2 separate regions of the Homo sapiens genome follow, and region 1 is linked to region 2. Evidence: promoter capture Hi-C in 16 types of primary human blood cells and fetal thymus (Javierre and others, 2016). All regions are on one chromosome and are shown on one strand. The core of a region is centred on a gene start or on the middle of the fragment in contact, and the rest is flanking DNA. Distances in the headings are between cores, read along the strand shown.

Evidence for each region. The method cuts DNA at HindIII sites, captures the fragments that hold promoters and counts their contacts. A CHiCAGO score of 5 or more calls a contact.
Region 1: a fragment that was not itself captured here is called in contact with the fragment with the promoter of RNF135 in region 2 in 1 of 17 cell types (endothelial precursors); the score reaches 5.5 in endothelial precursors.

What each region holds. Positions count from the first base shown.
Region 1 is chr17:31,379,920-31,385,484 of GRCh38, reverse strand. No RefSeq gene overlaps it. Among named protein-coding and RNA genes, the nearest start is that of RAB11FIP4, 9.0 kb to the left of the region's middle. The HindIII fragment of the contact is 689 bases long and covers 2,499-3,187 here.
Region 2 is chr17:30,966,734-30,972,739 of GRCh38, reverse strand. It overlaps RNF135 (ring finger protein 135), which reads right to left and starts at 1,701. Exons shown (of 5, transcript NM_032322.4): 1 at 1,295-1,701. The coding sequence starts at 1,666. RefSeq lists enhancers at 886-1,135, 1,164-1,725, 1,826-2,075, 1,726-2,287, 2,356-2,415 and 1 more and a silencer at 1,206-1,745. The HindIII fragment of the contact is 12,676 bases long and covers 1,086-6,006 here.

The DNA.
Region 1 (5,565 bases), core at 1,594-4,093, 410 kb before region 2:
ACAGGTGCCTGGAAGCCAAAAGAGGTGAGGAAAATGACTGAATTATAGTTAAATGTGCACATCCTTCACCATGTATTTCTTTTTTTTTTGAGATGGAGTCTCACTCTCGTTGCCTAGGCTGCAGTGCAATGGCGTGACCTCAGCTCACTGCAACCTCTGCAGTGTTCAAGCGATTCTCCTGCCTCAGCCTCCCGAGTAGCTGGGATTACAAGGTGCCTGTCACCATGCCTGGCTTTTTTTTTTTTTTTTTTTTTTTTTTTTTAGATGGAGTTTCGCTCTTGTTGCCCAGGCGGGAGTGCAATGGTGCGATCTCAGCTCACTGCAACCTCTGTCTCCCAGGTTCAAAGCGATTCTTGTGCCTTAGCCTCCCAAATAGCTGGGATTACAGGCACATGCCACCATCCCTGGCTAATTTTGTACTTTTAGTAGAGACAGGGTTTCTCCGTGTTGGTCAGGCTGGTCCCGAACTCCCGACCTCAGGTGATCCACTCGCCTCGGCCTACCAAAGTGTTGGGATTACAGGCGTGAGCCACCACGCCCGGCTACTAATTTTTTGTATTTGCAGTAGAGATGGGGTTTCACCATGTTGGCCAGGCTGGTCTTGAACTCTTGACCTCAGGTGATCCACCTGCCTCAGCTTCCCAAAATGCTGGGATTACAGGCATAAGCCACAGTGCCTGGCCGCCTACGAGCTTCTTGAGAGCAAGGACCATTCCCCATCAACCTTGTTAACCTTGAAAGGTTGCAAGCTGTTGAGTAGAAGTTATAAAATAACAGTGAAGGTTTAGGGTTGGCCTACGGAGTTGACAGCAGTTCACCTGCACCACTCTAAACTAGTTATGCTGATACTCCCCTAAGGAAGGAAAACAAACCCAGCTCCCTGTAATCCGAATTAGTAAAGAGCTACCTTTTGATAAAAGGAAAAAGATAAAGGTAAAAACATCCAAGAGGTGGTAGTTAATGTAATACCTAAACTCTGCTATCATAAACATCCTTTTTAGTACAACTAAAAGTAAGCATTATCCTCATCTCTTAAAACCCTTTTTGTTTTCAAAGCAATAATCATTGTAAAATGCTTAGAAGATAGACACAAAAAGGAGTAAGTGAGCCATACATATTGTTAACATTCAATACATTTCCTTTTCTTTATCCTATGCAAAAACTATACACATATATTTGTATTTATATAATTGGGAATTAGCCCTCTTATGTGGTTTTAAAACTCTTGATTTTATTGGAAGTTCCCTCCCAAAATTTAAATATTATTAGGCCATTTTTAAAGGCTGCATAAGGAAGTGGTCAGCTTCCAGAAAGTGCTGGATGAATGTAGATAATTTAACCAATATTTTGGTTGTCTTCAGGTTTTCTGATATTATAATACTTTGATGAAAGTCTTCACTCTTTTACCATTTGTTTCTCCAGAATAGATTCCTAGATAATTACTAGGGCGAATGGTATGGACTTTTTTTTTTTTTTTTTTTTTTGAGACGGAGTTTCGCTCTTGTTGCCCAGACTGGAGTGCAATGGCGCAATCTCAGCTCACCACAGCCTCCGCCTCCCGGGTTCAAGTGATTCTTCTGCCTCAGCCTCCTGAGTAGCTGGGATTAACAGGCATGCACCACCACGCCCGGCTAATTTTGTATTTTTAGTAGAGACGGGGGTTTCTCCATGTTGGTCAGGCTGGTCTCAAACTCACGACCTCAGCTGATCCACCTGCCTCAGCCTCCTGAAGTGCTAGGATTACAGGCATAAGCCACCACGCCCAGCCAGTATGGACATTTTTAAGGCTGGTAATACAGAGAGATGAGGCCATCTGCAGGAAGAACTCATCGCACCACATTCTTGACCTGCACCAAGTATTAGTTAAGTGTCTTTGCTAATGTGACAAGTGAAAATATGTATCAGGTATCCCATTGTTTCAGTTTGTATTTCTTTTTGTTTACTAATGAGTGTGATGACCTTTTCCATCATAAACAGGAGTTGGTACAATATTTCTGTGGATTGGCCATTCATGTTCTTTGCCCATTTTTCTTTCTGCTTAGGTTTTTTCTTTAGATGAGTTTTTATGAACTCTTTATAATTCCCTATTGGTTGGCCTTTTAATTTTGTGTGTGATTTTTTTGGACATGGGGACATTTTAATGTTAGGCAGTCAATGCGGGACCCTTAGGATTTCTGCTTTTAAGCTTACACTGCTTTTTTTTTTTTTTTTTGAGACGGAGTCCTGCTCTGTCACCCAGGCTGGAATGCAATGGCACAATCTCAGCTCGCTGCAACCTCCGCCTCCCGGGTTCAAGCAATTCTCCTATCTCAGCCTCCTGAGCAGCTGGGATTACAGGCACATGCCGCCACGCCCGAGAACGTATTGTATTTTGGTAGAGAGGCCCATGTTGCCCAGGCTGGTCTTGAACTCCTGAGCTCAGGCAATCCACCCGCCTCGGCCTCCTGAAGTGCTAGGATTACAGGCGTGAGCCACTGCACTTACACTGCTTTTAAGCTTACAAAGTCCTTCCCTATTGTAGGAGTCATTAATGTTCTTGGCCAATGTTTCCAGCTCTTTCCCTTTTGAACAGAGGAAGATAGTGATTTTTGACCCTTGTGACTTTGTGAAGCTGTGTGTCAAGTTCTGGCAATGACTGTGAAAAGTGACTGTGTATCTGTCCTCAAGCCTTTAATTGCTGATGCAAGAGCTTCCAGATGCTGCTCTGTCCAATCTAGCAGCCAGTAGCCACATGTAACTATTTACATTTATTTAATATAAAAGTTTAGTTTCCCATTCTCACTAACCACATTTCAAGTGTTCAATGGCCACATGTGGCTAGTGGCCACTGTCCTGGACAGTGCAGATATGGAACTGGTAATACAGAAAGATGAGGCCAAGTGCAGGAAGAACTCATTGCACCACATTCTGGACTGGCACCAATATTAGTTAAGTACGTCTTTGCTAATGTGACAAATGAAAATGGGACCCCTCTGTTTCAGCTTCCAGCAGAACATTTCCATCATCACAGCGGCTGGACATTACAGCCTGAGCTCCTTCCCTCTGGCATGATGGCTAGCCATTTGTAGATCAAATGAGTGAGTGATCAGAGATGGCTGATCACTCACTCTGGAGTCCCAAGACATCAGGGTGAGCAGAGCCTCCTGATAACGGGTGATGGACATGTAGCAGAGGTGAGAAATAAGCTTTTGTGGCTTTGAAGCCAATACACTTTGGGAGTTACTCATGCTTGTCTTTTTAAATAAAAAAATCAAAGCATAATCTGGACCTTCTAGCCTGTTCCACTTTATATTTACTCTAATTACCATTAGTATTTAAGCATTTAAAAATTTGTTTTACTACCTAATAAGGAAGTTTTCGACAACCCGTTGTTAGCCATGCTTTCCTGTTTATTCCACAAGGTGAAGAATATTTTCCAAAGATCATTTTGTCTGGATACACTCTCTTCTTGTTGGCATCTTGATCAGAATTGTATTAAGCCAGTTCATTTATTTGGGAAGATCTGGCATTCAACGATATTCAGCTTTCCAACCCAGGACTGTGGTCTGTCTCTCCATTTGCTGGAGTCTCCTTTAAGCCCAGCTTCCTCACATGCCTGCGTGCTGAGCAGTGCTGTGTGGAGAAAAATAAGCAGCAATGAGAGAAAACTGAGGACAACATAGTGACTTTTATAAAGCAAAACTAATTTCTTTTAAAGAACTGTACTTTATCCTGTGATTCCCTCCCCCACTACTCAGAGTTGAAATGGCGTTTTACAAAAAAACTATGTTAGATATATTTTTTTCTTGTTTCTAAATGCATAAGTTGATGAAATGTATTTTGGAAATTTTACTGATCTGTGAAATCTCAAAGTCTGGATTAGAATTTTCAATAGGTCTTTATTACACAGGTCACCTCTATTTTGTTAGGGATTTTGCATTGGGGTTGCTATTGTGTATGGGGATTTTCCCATTCTATTTATATAGTTCTTTATAACATAAAGCCTTCAGTGTTATTCAACAACTATCTATTGAGCACCTTTGAACAAAGCATGTTCCCTACACTGGGAGGCTCATAATCCTAACCAGGGACATAGGAAGATAGTTGATGATTACAAAGTTGTTGTATAGAGAAGCTGTCACAGAAGCAAGAGAAGGGCTCTCAGCCAATGGGAGATCAGAAAGCATTTCCAAGAGGTGCTGGTGCTCAAATTGAGTGACAACAAGGCACCCAGAAAATGTTTTGCTGAATGACTGCTGCACACTCAAAAAGACTTGGTATTTTGATAATGAATTTTTGTCTCCTGTAGAATCCTAGATATGAGTAAGGGTGGTATTTGTGGAGTCTTTTTTAATGAAGGCACAGATCACCTAATTCCTTTCTGCCTTCCATTCACAAATTACCAAATTGCAAAGAAAGTATCTCTTTACCATCAATTTCTTTCTACTTCAACTTTGGGCCAGACTCAAAACATTTATAATTGCCAGGATAGAAAAAGTGTTGCTATTTTTGTGATCTGGGGCTAAGGCATATCTTCACGTATTTTTTGTTTTTATTTTTTCTTGAGACGGAGTTTCGCTCTTGTTGCCCAGGCTGGAGTGCAATGGCGCGATCTCGGCTCACTGCAACCATTGCTTCCTGGTTCAAGCGATTCTCCTGCCTCAGCCTCCCGAGTAGCTGGGATTACAGGCATGTGCCACCATGTCCAGCTAATTTTGTATTTTCAGTAGAGATGGGGTTTCTCCATGTTGGTCAGGCTGGTCTCCAACTCCTGACCTCAGGTAATCTGCCCACCTCGGCCTCCCAAAGTGTTGGGATTACAGGCGTAAGCCACTGCGCCTGGCCCATATACTTTGTAAATGTAGAAAATTAAGCTGCATTCCCCAACGTGGGACAAAAGAATGGAGAAAAATAACACGAGAAGCCAATCTCCTGTGGTGTGCTGCTTTCTGCCTAAACACTTATCTGCTACTTGCCCTCTCTGGGCCAGTCTCCTCTCTCTCTTTTTTTTTTTTTTTTTTGAGATGGAGTCTCGCTCTGTCACCCAGGCTGGAGTGCAGTGGCACGATCTCACTCACTGCAAGCTCCGCCTCCCAGGTTCATGCCATTCTCCTGCCTCAGCCTCCCGTGTAGCTGGGACTACAGGCGCCCACCACAATGCCTGGCTAATTTTTTGTATTTTTAGTAGAGACGGGGTTTCACCGTGTTAGCCAGGATGGTCTCGATCTCCTGACCTCGTGATCCGTCTCTGGGCCAGTCTGTTAACGGACTTGATTACCTTCTGTCCATTAAATACTCCAAAACCCTATTTTCAACTGCTCACTGGACACATTTCAACCTGGACAAACTTCTTGGTCATTCTTTAAGACCCACCTCCTCAGTTGCCAACCATGCCAGTCACTCCATGACCCTCTAAAAACCCCACCCACACCTTGGGACACTGTGGTCATTGTTTGTGTGGCTGTTTTCCCCACTAAGTCATGAGGTCATAGAGGACAAAGGCCAAGCTTTCTTCTTTTGTATTTACAATTATAACCAAAGGAAAAACTTTTTTTGAACAATCAGCTAAGGTTGCATCTGTCAACA
Region 2 (6,006 bases), core at 452-2,951:
CCCCATAAAAGGAATAAAGTTCTGACACATGCTACAACATGAATGAACTTTGAAAACACTATGCTAAGTGAAAGAAACCAGGCACAAAGGGACAAACATTGAACGATTCCAGTTATATGAAATATCTAGAACAGGCAAACTCAGATACAGAAAGTAGCTTAGATGTGAGCAGGGGCTAGAGGGAGGAGAAATGAGGAGTTACTGCTTAATGAGTACAAAGTTTCTGTTTATGATGATGAAACAGTTTTGGAAACAGAAGTGATAGTTGCACAACAGGAAATGTAACTAATTTGTCACTGAATTGTACACTTAAAAATGGTTAAAATAGGCGGGGCGCGGTGGCTCACACCTGTAATCCCAGCACTTTAGGAAGCCGAGGCGGGCAGATCACGAGGTCAGAAGATCGAGACCATCCTGGCTAACAACGGTGAAACCCCGTCCCTATTTTTTAAAAAAAGAAAAAAACATACAAAAAATTAGCCAGGCGTGGTGGCGGGCGCCTGTAGTCCCAGTTACTCGGGAGGCTGAGGCAGGAGAATGGCGTGAACCCGGGAGGCGGAGCTTGCAGTGAGACAAGATGGCGCCACTGCACTCCAGCCTGGGCCACAAAGCAAAACTCCGTCTCAAAAAAATAAAAGGTTAAAATGAGGCCAGGCGCTGTGGCTCATGACTGTAATCCCAGCACTTTGGGAGGCCGAGGCGGACGGATCATCTGTGGTCAAGAGTTTGAGACTAGCCTGGCTAACATGTCGAAACCCCGTCTCTACTAAAAATACCAAAATTAGCCGGGCGTGATGGCGCACGCCTGTAATCCCAGCTACTCTCGAGCCTGAAGCAAGAGAATCACTCGACCCTGGGGGGCGGAGGTTGCAGTGAGCCGAGATCACGCACGCCATTGCACTCCATCCAGCCTGGGCGACAGAGCGAGACTCCGTCTCAAAGAAATAAAGAAAAAGGTTAAAATGGCCAGTTTTAATGTTATATAGATCTTACCACAATTTTACAAGTTTCAGAGAAAGAGACCGAAGATCGATTGGGAAGAAGTTGAAATATGCCAAGCTGTGTAACAGCTAAGTTGACAAGCTTTCGGAAGATGGGGAATTTGTTTTTTTCTACTTCTTCATACTTTTATGAACTTTCCAAAGTGCCTCCGAAGAGCGGAACTCGACTTTTAGACTGAGAAAAGGAACGTAAAAGTAGAACGGCTGAGGAAAGGGGTTCGAGCCACATGGGAAAGGGTCAGGCGGCGGGCAGCCCGGGGGAGCCAGGGGAGCTGCGGGCCCGGCCTCCCTACCCGCTGCAGTTCCGGGCGGCGCCGGGGCCTCGCGGCCGCGCTGGAGAGGGAACTGGAGCCCGGGCAGGGGCAGTGGGCAGGGTCGGAGCCCGCCTGTATCTCGCGTGCGGCGCGGCGGTACTTGTCGGCCAGGTCCTGCAGTAGCGTGTTCTTCCGCAGGTGCGGCTGCTGCGCGGCGCCCTGGCGGCAAGTGGGGCAGGCCCAGCGGCGGGCGTCGCGGGCGCCCCACAGGGCCTCCAGGCAGTGGCGGCAGAAGCTGTGGCCGCAGGGCAGCGTGGCGGGCCAGTCCAGCAGCCCCTGGCAGATGATGCAGCCGAGGTCGTCCTCGGCCAGCCACACGGGAACGGCGGAGCCCAGGCCCAGGCCCGCCATGGCCAACAGGCGGCCGGGGCGCGGACGTCGGGGTTGAGCCGGGCGAGTCTCCTCAGGCTCCTCCCTCGCCCTTCCTCTTCCCCTTGCCCTCCTCCTTTTCTCGGCCGCCTTTTCTCCTCCTTCCTTGGCGCCACCCCGTCTCCTTCCTCCGATCCTGCTGAAAACAGACTTAGAGCCTCCAGTGCCCAGCTGGAAAGACAGAGCTGACCTTCAGTGGCGGCCTCTTGCCCTGGGAAACCAACATGCCGCGAGCTGCTAGAAACCCGCGGAGGTCTCCAAGATTCCCTTTAGCTGGATGTCCCTCCATTAAGATGCAGCACCGTTGGATGTCTTCGTCCGTTGGCTTAAAAAAAAATAAACAACAAAAAAGATGCAACACCGACAACTCTTGGGAGGAGAGGACTCCATTCAGCAGCTTATTTATGAGAATGAGCCCACGAAGTGTCATCCAGCTCCTCTAACAAGTAGCAGGGGATTAAAGATCACCGATGCACAGCCACAGGGAGCGTCCTCAAAAATGCTGATGTTCGGCCCCGCTCGCAGGGAGTCTGATTTCATTGTCTTGGGTGGAGCACGGGTATTTTGTAAAACCTCCCCCAGGTGATTCTGACGCGCATTCAAGGTTGAGTGAGCGAACCCTTGGCTTTTTAACTCGCAGGTATAATGCAGAGTTGTGCGCTGTGTCCTTACCGCCTTCTGCGGGATGTAAGCGCGTTTCCCAACAGACACTCGGACAAAATTCTAGAAAGTGTTTTCCTGAGAAGGCTCACTCACTCACTCACTTCGCATCCCAGTCCTAAACGCATTGCAACCAGAAAATGTTAGAGCTAAAAGAGCACCACGTCCTCCCAGATGACCCAAAGAGGTTAAAAAAAAAAAAAAGAGAAAAAAGAAAAACTTGCAGGCTCTCATGGTAACAATGAAGCGTCAGAGACTAAAACCCACAACTCCCCAATCTGTTGAAATGAACTAACAACGTCTCATGCTTTACTTTATCCTTTCTGGCCTGGGCTCAAAGTAGGTATCAGATAATACAAGTTTGTAGCCGACCTTTGGATCACTTGAAGTCAGGAGTTCAAGACCAGCCTGGCCAACATGGTGAACCCTCATCTCTACTGAAAATACAAAAAGAAAAGAAAAGAAAAGCCAGGCGCCCTGGCGCATGCCTGTAATCCCAGCTACTTGGGAGGCTGAGGCAGGAGAATCTCTTGAACCCGGGAGGCGGAGGTTTCAGTGAGCCAAGACTGCGCCACTGCACTCCAGCCTGGGCGACATAGGGAGACTCCGTCTCAAAAAAAAAAAAAAAAAAAAAAAGAAAAAAAAGAAAGAAAAGAAAGAAAAAAAAGCGTTTGTGGTTATTTCTAATACTGGAAGTGTCATGGAGTAGGCAGCGCTGCTCATCAACGTTTCCAGTGCTTTCCCTTTCTGGGCACATGGTAGGACTGGCACTTCCCTGACCCACTTGAAACACACAGAGGTAATATGTTACTTCCCACCAGCTTTAAAGGCGACTGAGCCGGCCATTGTATCCCTTTCTGCCAGCTGCCCCAATTATGGAGATGAAACCATCATCCGGTGACCTGGGTCACTGAGTGGCTAAGATGAGCAGACTCCCTGCCAACGCACCCTAGGATACGTAGTAAGAGGGAGAAGAAAACTAGGATGTATTCAGCTTACTGAGATTTAGTGGGTGTGTGCTGCTACAGCATAACCTAGCCTATCCTGACTGATGTATTACCTGGATCTTGTTCTAGAATCTCCGCATCGGAGTAAAATCGTAGTTTCTAAGAGCCTCTTTTTTTCTGTAAAACGGGCATGATACTAAACACTTAAACATGCTCAGATCTTCCAACTTAAAAAATGAAATCACTGGCGGGGCGTGGTGGCTTATGCCTGTAATCTCAGCACTTTGGGAGGCTGAGGCAGGTGGATTGCCTGAACTCAGGAGTTCGAGACCTGCCTGAGCAACATGGTGAAACCTTGCCTCTACAAAAAAAATACAAAAACTACCTAGACATGGTAGCGCAGGCCTGTGATCCCAGCTACTCAGGAGACTGAGGTGGGAGGATTGCTTGAGCCAGGGAGGTGGAGGCTGTAATGAGCCATGAGATCTCAGGAGGTCAAGACTGTGGTTAGCTGTGATCACACCACTTCACTCCAGCCTGGGGAAGGAGCTAGACCTAGTCTCAAAAAAATTAAAAATTAAAAAATAAAATAAAATCACCTTTGACCTGAGCCTCCCTGGAACCAGCTCTCCTCTTCTCCATTTCACAGCCAAGTTTCTGGAAAGAGTGAGTTAACCAGTAGTTTTCAAACTTTTTTCTTGGACACGCCCTAAAAGTTTTATGCAAAATCATGCAGTGGTTATAAGAAAGGGGGAAGTGGGGGCCGGGCGCAGTGGCTCACGCCTGTAATCCCAGCACTTTGGGAGGCTGAGGCGGGCGGATCATGAGGTCAGGAGATTGAGACCATTCTGGCTAACACGGTGAAACCCCGTCTCTACTAAAAAATACAAAAAAAATTAGCCGGGCGTGACGGCGGGAGCCTGTAGTCCCAGCTACTCAGGAGGCTGAGGGAGGAGAATGACCTGAACCCAGGAGGCGGAGCTTGCAGTGAGCTGAGTTCGCACCACTGCACTCCAGCCTGGGCGACAGAGCAAGACTCTGTCTCAAAAGAAAAAAAAAAAAGAAAGAAAGAAAGGGGGAAGGGGGAGAGTGGTCAGCTCTGGTAGTAAAAATATATTAGCAAATTCTTCATTTATATCAGATTTTTTTTTTTTTTGAGATGGAGTCTCACTTTGTTGCCCAGGCTGGAGTGGAGTGGAGTGGCACAATCTCGTCTCACTGCAACCTCCACCTCCCGGGTTCAAACCATTCTCCTGCCTCAGCCTCCGGAGTAGCTGAGATTACAGGCGCTCGCCACCATGCCCGGCTAATTTTGTATTTTTAGTAGAGATGGGGTTTCCCCATGTTGACAGGGTTTCTCCATGTTGGCCAGGCTTGTCTCGAACTCCTGACCTCAGGTGATCCGCCCACCTCATCCTCCCAAGTGCTAGGATTACAGAGGTGAGCCACCGCGCTCAGCCTACATCAGACATTTTGTCATTCTTGGCCGAGTGCGGTGGCTCATGCCTGTAATCCCAGGACTTTGGGAGGCCGAGGCAGGCGGATCATGAGGTCAGGAGTTCGAAAAATACAAAAAAAAATTAGCTGGGCGTAGTTGCAGGCACCTGTAATCCCAGCTACTCAGGAGGCTGAGGCAAGAGAATCATTTGAACCCGGGAGGTGAAGGTTGCCATGAGCCAAGATGGCACCATTGCACTCCAGCCTCGGCAACAGGGCAAGACTCCGTCTCAAAAAAAAAAAAAAAGAAATTTTGTCATTCTTTTATCTTTCTGAACTTGTATTTCCATTCCATTTCCTCCACAGAATTACATTCCAAAGCAATATATTTCATGCATGAAAGTCTTTTATCACTTTGTAATACTTCTCTACAACAAAAGTATGTATGTGTATTAAATTTTTAATTCTTCTTAACTTCCTGTGACAAAAAGGCTCTTGGTAAATTTTTTCCCCTGGATTTAATTATCAATATAATTACTATTAGCAGTCAAACAAAAGAAAAGTATGCTGCAATTTATAACTTTTATATAAATAAAATAACTTTTAAAGACAGTAAACATTTTATTGGAATGATAGCTATTAATAAGACAGATGGGCTCATTTCTTTCAAAAATGCATTTATGCCCAGGCACGGTGGCTCACATCTGTAATCCCAGCACTTTGAGAGGCCAAGGTGAGCGGAACACTTGAGGTCAGGAGTTTGAAACCAGCCTGGCCAACCTGGTGAAACCCTGCCTCTACCAAAAAATACAAAAATTAGCTGGGCATGGTGGCCTGAGGTCCCAGCTACTCCAGAGGCCGAGGCAGGAGAATTGCTTGAACTTAGGAGACGGAGGTTGTAGTGAGCTGAAATGGCACCACTGCACTCCAGTCTGGGCAACAGAGCAAGACTCTGTCAAAAAAAGAAGCATTTATCTATGAATGAACATTACTTAATGATAGACAAACTTTTGCAATAAATTCTATTTCTTTTATGTTTTTATGTGTGCCGAGAAATCTTGTTCACATGTATAAATAGATGACAAAATTGTCACTCATTTTGTTGAATACTTTTTGAGATATATGCAAAAAAGTCATATAGTGATAATCTCTCAATTAACAACTTGATTTGATTTTTCTTTAATTTTTGTTGAAAGCAAGAATTTGAGGTCGGGCGCGGTGGCTCACACCTGTAATCCCAGCACTTTGGGAGGCCGAGGCGTGTGGATCACGAGGTCA